Regions from separate parts of the Homo sapiens genome. Here region 1 is linked to region 2. Evidence: promoter capture Hi-C in 16 types of primary human blood cells and fetal thymus (Javierre and others, 2016). All regions are on one chromosome and are shown on one strand. The core of a region is centred on a gene start or on the middle of the fragment in contact, and the rest is flanking DNA. Distances in the headings are between cores, read along the strand shown.

The links. Contacts are between HindIII fragments. The CHiCAGO score rates a contact against its expected background, and 5 or more counts as called.
Region 1: a contact is called between a fragment that was not itself captured here and the fragment with the promoter of ICE1 in region 2, in 1 of 17 cell types (M2 macrophages). The highest score is 6.3, in M2 macrophages.

Annotation. Positions count from the first base shown.
Region 1 is chr5:5,122,288-5,127,962 of GRCh38, forward strand. It overlaps the pseudogene RN7SKP73. Among named protein-coding and RNA genes, the nearest start is that of ADAMTS16-DT, 15 kb to the right of the region's middle. The HindIII fragment of the contact is 3,429 bases long and covers 145-3,573 here.
Region 2 is chr5:5,421,427-5,427,372 of GRCh38, forward strand. It overlaps ICE1 (interactor of little elongation complex ELL subunit 1), which reads left to right and starts at 1,251. Exons shown (of 19, transcript NM_015325.3): 1 at 1,251-1,573. The coding sequence starts at 1,490. It overlaps LOC101929200 (a long non-coding RNA gene), which reads right to left and starts at 703. Exons shown (of 6, transcript XR_001742583.3): 1 at 1-703. RefSeq lists enhancers at 1-497, 498-1,008, 874-1,123 and silencers at 1,154-1,483, 1,544-1,683. The HindIII fragment of the contact is 2,607 bases long and covers 1-1,770 here.

The sequences.
Region 1 (5,675 bases), core at 609-3,108, 300 kb before region 2:
AGATATGTTAAAGGTTTAAGTCAGATAGCATTTGAAAAAGTGTCATCTACAATTCCATTGATTTACTTTGCTTTAATTGTTATATATGCAGTTTTTTACATTCTAAATTACGTTAAAGGAAATTATCAGATATGTACATTATCAAGCTTGATTTTGTTTAAGGATATTTCAGAAACAATAGTCAAATTCATCAGTTCTTTTGAGAGGACAGATAGAAAAAGATAGAGACTGAGACATTTTTATTTTGATTATTAAGATGTGAAAATTAGGCATTGAAATTTCTCATGAGAAATTATTGCTCAGTTATCAGAAGTTAATTAGAGTTTTGTACTCTAGTGATTTTACACACTATTAATTTTGTTCATAAAAGAAACAATACTGTTATTATAAGTACGCTGGTCTTACTCCATAAAATTAAATCGTATGCTTACCAAGTTGGAATTTCATAATTTGGAAACTTGAATTTTTTCATCTCTCGAAGATAGAATGGGACAGCTGAACTAAAATCACTTCACAATGGCGTCTTGATGCTAATTAGCTGTACATATCAAAGTTTTCCACTTGAATCTGTCCCAGGGCATGAAGAACATCATAAACTGTGGTATTTGCAACATCATGGATGATATTCATTATCTCTGAAAATAATCCAGACTTTTCCCATATGCTTTTGCAAAGATTAAGACTGGGTTGTCTTCTCCTATAATTTTTGTGAATCTGATGGGAAGTTTTCCCATTCGTTCAAGGTACTTACAAATGAGATACGATATGGGAAAAATGAATCAGATTTGTCACAACAGATTTGCTGTGCAGTTTGTGGTCTTTGGGATGCAGGAATGCTAAATTCTGTTCAAGAGCTGCAATCTTTATCCTGGAAGGATCACTGGAACTATTTCCCATGTAAATCAACCAGATTTGGAAGCAACATTTAGAGCAAAGAAAATGTTCATGTTGATTTTGAATTTGGTCTTTACTGATCGGATACTGCCAGCTATTTTTTCCCATTTGTTTTATTTTTTAATAATTTGTATTATTTTTCATTTAAATGTATTAAATTTCATTTATATTAAAGTTTTACTAAACTTACATTGCAGTTCCTATGTTCCAGGTATTGTTCTAAGTTCTTTACAAATATTAATCTATTCTATTCTCATAACAGCCTTCTGAGTTGGATTGTATTTTTATCATGCCCACTACACAGATGGAAACATGAAGACTTTTGAAGCTCAAGAAATGCATCCATGCTCATATCCTGTTCTCCCTGCTATGTACTTACCTGAAAAAATATTTTAAATTAATTTAATATTAGTGGAACAATTAATTTAATTTTATATTTCAGTTTTCATTTGCAGTATGTGTGTATTTTAAGAGTATATTGTTAATTTCAATTCTTTACAAAATCTAAGACATTGTTTTGTAATAAACAAATTTAAGCTATTGCGTATAACAGATTAAGTTTTTTTGGATATTCTATTCATCTTATGCCTTCTAATTTTAATTTTTCTATTGCTACAGTTGGCTTTTTTTCTAAGTAGCCAATGTCTATTTACTTCTATAATATATTCTGCTCTTTTTTATCAACAATATATTTCTTTTGACTTTTCAAAAGGATTTTAGTTTATTTCTGATTTTCAGTTATGAATAAAACAGTATTCCCTCATCTGGAAGACAGAATTTCATAGAATTTCACTTCACTTTTCCGCCACTTCTTCCCTTTCTGATCCTTGAAATTATTGTGAACAATATGAAGCGTACCATTTTTATTAACCTCATTTAGCTAAAGATACATATGCATATATAGTTTTTAGAGTAATTGTCTTTGTCATTTTATGGTTTCAACAGTTGTATAAACTCTCAGCTTATCTTTTTTAATGCTAGACACTACTCATTTAATATTATACGTCCTCAATAATGAGCACATAAGTATACAGATCTTTCTAAAGCTGGAAAACAAAGCAAAACTGAGTGTAGGGCTCAAAAAAGTTCATGTTGTTCCAGGCAAAATGAATGGCAAAATGCACAGCCAGACACATCTTGAAAAACACAAGGTCAGAGACACATGAAAATCCTATGAGGATCCAGTCGGAAGAGCAAAAGGGGTTACCAATAAAATAACAAATCCGAACTTGCTTCCAGATTTCTCCTCTGCAAAAGTACGTGTCAGATCACAACATGACATGTCTGAGAGAAAAAAAAGCTGTGGTTTACAATTTCTGTTCCAAGTTGATGTTTTTGGTAATGTAAGGAGCAGATATAAATTGTCAAACATGCACTATTTGTCCCAAGTGTTCCTCACCCATGATAGTTTGACTTCAGTTCAAGATTTTCCCTCCTCTGCCTTGGGAACTCCTCACTCCACGTTGGCCTCCACTCTGTGAGGTACAGTGGTTGACGTGTTCTGGGCTAAATATCTAAATTGTTGATACAAGAGCATGAAGTTCTAAAAAATATGAGCTAAAAGTGAAGGTGAAAAACATATAATGATTTACTCAGTTAATAGAGACTTTTTAGAGACTTTTTTTGTCGTGAAAACTAAATATGCAGAAGCAAACTGTATAAACACAGTGGAGCAAATTAAAAAGGAATCGACACTCAGAAAAATCAAAAAATATACTTTAATGCAAGTTAAGTAATATAGGAAACAAAAGAAGAGAAAGATCAAATTAATGCCAGGAGATAATTTATATACAAAGCAAAGGATGCTCAACAACATACGTAATGGGCTTCCGAATTACAAAGAACAGAATCAGGACTCAAGCAGATGCCAGATACCTGTACTCTACAATGTCATTGATGTGGCTCCAACATCCAGTGACAGGGGTTTTCTTTGCAGGGATTGGGGATGAGGATGGAGGAGGATAGAGAGGAGGTGTGATAAAACACACTGTTATGTTAAATATACATTTAGGTTTTAAGATGAAACCCCAATTTAACAAACATTAAATTGGGGAAAATTAACTTCACAATGGAGGACACATGGACAAGAATGAAGACTTTACTGATCAAAACTGGGGGTAGGCCTGGTGCAGTGGCTTGCGCCTATAATCTCAGTGTTTTGAGAGTCCAAAGCGGCAGGGCTGCTTGAGGCTAGAAATTTGCAACCAGCCTGGGCAACAAGGCAAGGCCCCATCTCTACAGAAAATTGAAAAATCAGTTGAGCATGGTGGCATGCATCTCCCGTCCTAGCTACTTGGGAGGCTGAGGGAAGAGGATTGCTTGAGCCCAGGAGTTTGAGGCTACAGTGAGCTGATTGTGCCACTGCACTCCAGCCTGCACAACAGAGGAAGACCCTTTCTGCAGAAAAAAAAACCAAAAAACTGTGGATGAAAATATTTATAAATGTAGATAGGAAAGACACATATATTTATGTATTTACATTAAATATATTATCATGAATTTGCAACGTGTTTGGAAAAGAGCCCAATTAATAAATATATTCTTAATAAAATATAAAGTGCAAAAATAAAATTATAAGGCACAGTAACCATTCACACAGCCCTCTGTATTTCTTCAAAATATGTGATCAGTGAAACATTGAAACTAACTGTTCAATGTTGTCTTTCCCACTGAGTAATAAGCTTAATGGGGAAGGAACCTCCATGGTGGATTCTCAATAAGTAGATAATTATTCATAATTAAACATGATTAATGAGAGACTAATAAAAAAGTAAGAAACTATTCTAAACTGATTGAAGATCTCAATGAAAGGAACTCTCTTATAGGAGAACATAAACTGAAAAACTGCTTCAAGAAGACGGAGAGGAAGTGAAGGCAATCTGGCTGCAACATGTGTCACCAGGGTGGATTGGGCTGATCTGGCTGGCTAGCTAGATGTCCCCTTCATCCCTCACTGCTCCATGTGCATCTCTCCCAAAGCTGCACACTCAGTCCAAGAGGACAGCCAACCCCAGTAGAAGAGGACTGGTCTTCAGTCAAACCTACGTGAGTAATTATGCTCCCCTGCTAAAACCTCCAAACAAGCTCTTAAGATGATGGAGGAAGGCACAACAGGCCATTAACAATAAAACACATTGAATAGTTAGGCAAAAAATTTCCTCCAAAAAATAAATCAGACTCTAATAATTGTACAAGTGTTTTGTCAAATCATGAAGAAGCAGATAATTTTCACTTGTTTAAAATGTTCCAGAACACAGAAATCATTTGGGAAAATGTCCAGTTAATTTTACAAGTGGCTAAAGCACCAAAAACAAAACGTAAAAAGGGAGGCAAACGTGTTTTAATTGCTTCTTTTTTGCCCCATTGGTGAGGGAGGAATTCCTGCCCTAAGGTTATGGGGAGGGCCAAGTGCATGACACATGGTGCTGGGCAGAGGGGAACGTTTATTAGTCACCTACACCCACAGCCTGGGGAGGAGGACGCTGCACTCCATGGAAGGTCACGTGGGGCTGCACTTGGAACAGACTGAACAACAAGGGCTGTGGAGAAGACTTTGTAGTATCAAGAGGATGAGGTGCCCCTGTTCCCATGGGAGGGTGTGATTGGCCTGTTTGAACGATTCCACGAGATGGCAGAAGACTGAAATCTTCTACTCAGGAATAAGCAGACACTGCTTCATCCCAGTGAAAAGGAAGGTTGTCAATTTTACCAGATGTCAAGACAGCATATAATAGTGACCCTTTTTAGGTCTTACACTACAGTATGTCTAGGGACAACACACAGACACCCCCCAATACACAATTGACAAATATTTCTTATTATTATTTATATAAACATACTCAACAAAATACTCTAAATTTGAATTAATCAGTACACTTTCAATTTAAATTTTAGTTTTATATATTAATCAATATAGTTTAAACATACCAAAATAAAGCAGGATAAATTCATGAATAGCATTGTTCAATTTTTTTAAGTTAGGTAATTACATTAATTAATGGGGCAAAGAAGAATTAAAACTTTTAGAAATTGAAAAAGGAGACACATCCACTCCCCCAACCCATATCAGAGGGATACATTAGAATTACTTAAAAGGTATAAAAAAATCCCCGCCTTCTCATATTTTCTTAATCTCCGGAATGAGAATCATGATGGAGATTTGGGTTTGTTAAAGAAGAAAACTAATCCAGAGAGATTATGTTAAACATTCAATATTCCTTACCACTAGTACTTCTTAGCAAACTAGAAAAGAACTCTTTTTAGCATCATAAAACAAATCTACTGGAAAACAAGGGCTAATACCATCCTTAGGAACAGAATGCAAGAGCCATTCCCACTACAGTTAGGAATAAGACAGCTGTGCTCCTGATCACCAGTATTTCGCTGTCTCTGGAAACTCTGTCCATGAGCTAAAGTAGGGGAAAAACTAAGGTGTAAATACCAGAAAAAAAAAATAGACAATTATTTGAGATAATGTAATTTCATCTTTTTGGAAAAAGCAAGCAAATGAATTAAAAGTTTAGTAGACCTCGTAAAAACAGAGGAAACTGGAAAATAAAATACCTGTACCATTTCTATAAGTTATTTATTTTATTTAAAATAAAACCCTGCATATATAGCACTAATAAGTTTCAAGGACTGTTTTAAGATTTTTTAAATCTTAAAAGACCGTTTTAAGATTATTTAAATATTCACTCATTTAATCCTCATAGCAGTTATGAAGTAAGTGCTATTATTGTCATTATCATTGTCTCCATTTTACTGATGAGGACACTGAGGCT
Region 2 (5,946 bases), core at 1-2,500:
TCTATCACCGGCAGGTCCTCAGTTAGGTACACGCCTGTCTTGCTTGGGTGTCAACGACAGGAAACTTAGCTATCGCTGGATGTCTGCTTCCGCCACTCCACAGCAGGTGGTATCCAGAGTGTGTAAGCAAGGTCAGGGGTGCGAAATTTGGAGAAGAAAACTCAGAGAAAAATGCAGACTGCTTTTTTTGGAAGGGGTGTTTTCAGTTGCAATTTCCATACTGAGGAGCTAGAAATTGGCTGGTAAGGTCTAGACATTAACTTAACTAAACGTGCATTCCTCCTCTTGAATTTGGACTTTATAAGGAATTTGGATTGTATAACCACACGATGGAAGCTGCGAGAGGCTTCTGAACAAGGTACTGACGGCGACCAGCTGTGATGACTAAAAAGACGATTCTGGTGGTGGTGGATACGGTGGCTGGAGATAAGAAAAACCTCGGTTCAAACGAGATCTGAATTTACCCACTAACTACGACCACGAGGAGTTTATTCCTTTATCTTTCCGTTTTCTCTCTCTCCCGAGAAGTGTCAAAAACAGGATTTGGAGGTGGCAGGATAATGGCCAAAATGGGTAGACAAGGTGGCGAACGATTCAACCAGGCTCTGGGCTTGGCGCATGGTGGGCGGTGGCGCCCACACCTGGGCCTGGGAACCCGCCGCTCGGGCATCACTGGCTGCCGCGGCGACCGGCGAGGACACATGACCGAGGAGCGAAAGGTCAGAAGACAAGGGGACTGTTACAGGAGCAGGGGAGCCGCCACTGGCTGCTAAGGCCGTGCAACTGGCGCCGAAGCGCACGATCTCCGCCCGCCCCGCAGCGCGTCGGGAACTGTAGTCCCTCCCTCTCCTGCTCCCTGGCCCAGGACGGGCTCCGGGACAGCGCCTATCCCTCTAGCTGTAAATCACGCACTTTCCTGTCCTGGACGCCGGGTCCTTCCACTTCTCAGGCGTCTGGAGCTTACGTCACGGGCGGGTCACCGCCCACATAGCGGAGGCCTTTAGGTGTCTATGGAAAGCCTGTCGTACAGCAAGGTGGCAATAAAGGATCGACCCTTAACAGTGGTAGGAATGCACCTTCGATCCTTCTACTCCTATTGGCTGCTCCTCTGTGGGCGTCTCCCCCGCCGCATAGCACAGCTCCTCTCCCGGTGTTGCTCAGGCAGCGCCTTAGGCAGCCCCGCGCCCAGGGGAGGGGCGGGGCGAGCCAGGGCGGGGCGGGGCGAGCCAGGGCGGGGCGGGGCCCTGACTGGACTGCGTCGCGCTCGGGGGCCGCGCCGGGTAGCGTTTCTTTTTAGTGCCTGAGGCAGCTCTGGCTCGGAGAGCCTTTTGCTAGCCCCACGGGGACCTCTGTGCACGGATGGACCCGCCCGGACCTGGCGGGAAGCGGCCTGGCAGGCGGCGGCCCCGGCGGCATCAGCAGAGACAGGACGGGGCCGACGCCGCGGGCCCCTGAGGCGTGCGTGCCCACCGGGCCCGGCGGCGGCACCATGATGCCGGGCGAGACCCATTCGGCGGCGCCCGGGACGGCGGCGGACCTGTCGCGATGTCAGGGCTGCGCCTCTCTGCAGCAGGTGCAGCACCTCCCGGGGCCCCGGGCGCGGGGGGGGACTCGGCTCGGCCGGCCGGGAGCGCAGGGATGTGGGGTCCGGCCGCGCGGGCTGTGCCTCAGTGCGCTGCTCTCCCTTCCCAACCGTAGCTCTTGCTCGCTCGTCTCTCTGCTCTCTTTTTCCTACATGAGTTTTGGGGACGGCTTTCTTTGCTTTATTTAAGCTTGAAACCCAGAGTTCATTGACTGGAATGCGCTGGTGTAACGGTGGGGGTGGAGTAAGCGAGGTTTGGAGGGCCCCCCACCTTCCCTACCCGGCCTCGGAGCTCCCTAGGGCAGACTCCGTAGGTCAGTGAGGGACAGGTGAAACGCCGAGGGCAGTTATCTCCCTGAGGATAACGCTTTGGTCTTCTGGCCCATCCTGAGTATTTGTTGTTTGGAGGCAGAATCTTACGTGACATGTGGGTTGTCTGAGTCTTAGACTCGAAGAGTCTAGGGAGGCGTTTCAGCTTATAGCAGATGTGCCATCCCGAGGCTAATTTTTTAAAAAGCAAGCCAAGTAATTGGTCAAGTAGCTTGTCAGTTGTTTGATAAAAGTAGTTTATGAAAGGCATGCAGAGACTGGAGGTTTCTAACAGCGGCGTGGGCTCTTCTTTAGAGTGACATAAGGGAGAATTGCTAGAGTATGGCTCCAGATCTTATGGGGTGGTACTTGGGCAATAGTGCCCCTCATTTCCCACGACTCTCCTAGCTGCCTGATGTCGGGGGTCTCTTTTAACTTCCTACTATCGCGGTTTCAGTGATAAAACGGAACTCACCAGCACCTCATTACCTACTCTGCCTAGTGTTCTAGGAACTACAGACATTGTGGTGAACAAAATAGGATCTCTCATAAGTAAGATGCATATGTGTGAATAAGGCCTCAGAAGATTTTAGGTGTTAGAAAATAAAGGAGGATGTTGGAATATTGGTCTTGTCTCTTAGCTAGAGTAGTCAGGTAGGGAATTTTTGAGTCAGTAACTTTCAGATATTTGAATAATGGGAAGGATCGGGCTGTCAGAAGAGATGTGGGAAGAGCTTCCTGGATAGAGGGATTAACAGGTGGAAAGGTTCCTTTGGTGAGAAGGAGCAGGGTGTCTTTGATGAGCAGAACATGGTATGGTTGGCATGAGCATAGTGCACACGGAAGATGGTTGATGAGACCAGACGGGAGTGCAGGCTAGGTAGGCCATGCCGAGAAACTTGGTTTGCATTTTAAGTGCAATATCTGTGAACTGATTGCAAACATTTTAAGTGTTGAAGGAAGGGGAGGAAGGAAATGTGCTGCTTTTGTGAGTAGAAGGAGAACTAACAGATCATTGCCTTCACTGAGCTGCATTGTGTAGGTATCTTATAACGCCCCCCCGCCCCCGCCACCACCACCCCAGGAACGTGATTGGAGTTCTCCCGAATCTTTAATACATTGTATTTATTATTCGAGCCAATTCACTCAACAAACATTTATTGATCACCTGCCGTATTTTAGACACTGCAATTATGGCATTAGGGGAGAAAAAGACAAAAATTCTTGATCTCTTGGAGCTTCCGTTCTAGGAGGGTGGCAGGATAAATGAAACAAATGAGTTATGTTAGAGGGTAATGAAAACGTTGTTGATGAATTGAACAGAGATGGGGAGGGAATGAATGGGTGAGGACTAGGCCAGTGGCTGTTGGAATTTAAGTAGGGAGTCCTGGAACGTTTATATTGGAGCAAAGGTGAGAGAATAATAAGCTCTGTAGAAATCTTGGAAGAAAAGTCTCCCATACAGTGGAAACATCAGATGTGAAGAACTGTAGCAGGAGCTGGCTTGGTGTGCTTGGGAAGAGCAAGAAGGCCAGTGAAGCTGGAGCGGAGTGAATGCTGGGAGTCAGGAAGGTAGGAGGAGGGCCTGATTGTGTGGGCTCCTGTAGACCATTGTTGGGGTTTGGGCGATGGAAATGGTGAGTCATTGGAGGCTTTTGTGCAGAAGAACTACTGATGTGAACTGTGCTTTTCAGTCATGGATCTGTTATGGTTAAATTTAGCAACTGTATTCTTCTGGTTGCTTAGGCCAGAAACTAGATGGCATCCTTGGTGCAGCTCTTTTTTTCTCATAACCTGTATCCAGTTTATCAGATTGTGTCCGCTCTGCCTTCATTATTCACCCACTTTTCAACATCTCCACTGCTTCCACCGTGGTGTGAACTACTCTAATGTATGGCCTAGAAATTGAATCTCCTTCCTTCTACCCTTGCCACATTTCCTGCTGTGGGTTCTCAAAACATCAATAAGAGTAATCCTAGATCCAGAGGTCTGCAAACTTTTTCTGTAAGGAGCAAGATCACAAGTATTTAGGCTTTGGGGACTTGCTCAGAACTGCTCAGCTCTGCCATTTTCATGTGAAAGCAGCTGTAGACAATTCACAAAGAAATGAGTATGCCTGTGTTCCATTGAAACATTATAAACACTGGAGTAGGGCCTTAGTTTACAGAGTTCTTCTCTAGGTCAGGACACTATTGCATTTGGATTTTCTGTGGCCTGGAATTGGATTACCTTTTTAGGGGAAAGTTACGAGTAGAGTCTCTGGAGGAATTCTGTAGTTGTGCAAAGTGAGTCTAGAAAAATAGGTTCCTGGCAGTTTATAGAGAACCTTGAATGGTAACCATCATAAATTCTTGTACTTATTTCTGTCAGTGTTATGGGATGGTGAAGGTTTTTGCATAGTTACGTTAGGACAGTGCTTGTAGTAGAAGTAACGGTGGTATGCAGGATGGATTGAAGGGGGGTGCAACTAGGTATGGTAAATTATTTTACTAATACATAATAGTGATAACAAAAGTCTGAAGTAATTGAAGGTTCCTGGGAAGGGGAATAAAGAAGAAAAAGGTTCTGAATATGAGACAGTGTAAAGAATGGGCAGGTCTCATGTCAGGAAATGGAAGGTCCCGAGGTTTAAAACTCAAATGACCATGAGAACTGTGGTAGATACAGGAGGAAGAGGAAATCAAGGTGGAAGGGACTGAAGTTGGAATGACATCAGAACTAGGAGTGTTCAGCCATTTTCAGATTTAATGTTTGTGGAACACAGTGCTTCCAAGGTGCCCTAATATCCCTCAAGGAAATAGCAGGCCAGGTTAGATGTGCACTGTGTTCAGTGTAAGAATTTTATCTGGGCTGGGAGCGGTGGCTCATGCCTGTAATCCCAACACTTTGGGAGGCCAAGGCAGTGGATCACGAGGTCAGGAGTTCAAGAACAGCTTGGCCAAGATGGTGAAACCCCGTCTCTACGAAAAATACAAAAATTAGCCGGGCATGGTGGCATGCGCCTGTAATCCCAGCTACTCAGGAGGCTGAGGCAGGAGAATTGCTTGAACCTGGGAGGCCGAGGTTGCAGTGAGCCGAGATGGTGCCACCACTGCACTCCAGCCTGGGTGACAGAGCAAGACTCCGTCTCAAAAAAAAAAAAAAAAAGCTTATTTGACAGAAGGGAGGTGTGAGGATAGGAAAATGGGGCATTATGTTCTGTCACTTAAAGGAATCTTTGAAACCATGAGGCCAATTCATGGGATTACATGCTATCATTAGAGTCAGTGACGGAAAACCAACTAGCTGATGTGTGGCCTTTGATGAAGGGGAACATGGAATGGTGAGGAAAGGAGAAACAGATAAAGTATGTTAGAGGGTTAAACAGGGAGTGCGTTCCAGAGGGAATCAAGAGTTCCAGAGGGAACCAAGATCGGAAAGAATGAGAATTAAGGAAAAGCAATTCTTTTGGTCAATTAGTAGATAACCGCTTTTTGGAAATAATTTTCGCATGTATTATAACTACGTGAAGTTCCATATTTCAATTAAACTTTCGTGTGAGAGAGAAACTAAAGAGGTACAGAGAGAAGATATTCTGTGCTATAGTTTTAACTTTTTGATCATGCAGAGAATTTACAAGTGTAACATAGGAGTCAGTCTTTCCAATGGTAGGCAACCATATTGGTGTTGTGACTTCATTCTGAACTGTAATGTTAGGCTAACTTGCCTCTCTGTCTTGAATAGTGGTTTGCTTGCACTGAAAATCTTCCTTTCATTTCTTAATCCTCCCTGTCCTTTTTTTCTTTAGTTGTTGAAGAGATAACAGTACCTTTGCAGAGATCATTATTTGATTCAGAAGTGTGCAGATTGACTACATTTTCTGTGTCTTTTGCTCGTAGTCTCACAAATCACTTCATATCTGTTTTGTTACGCTCATTGATTACAGTAGTTCATTGCTGATCCATAGCCCAATGCCCAAAGTTCTGGGTTGCAGAACTTTGGCAGTCAGATATAACAGTGTGGGTCCTCACTCTAGTCATATTATGTATTATGTATGGTTAAGTAAAGTCTTAAGT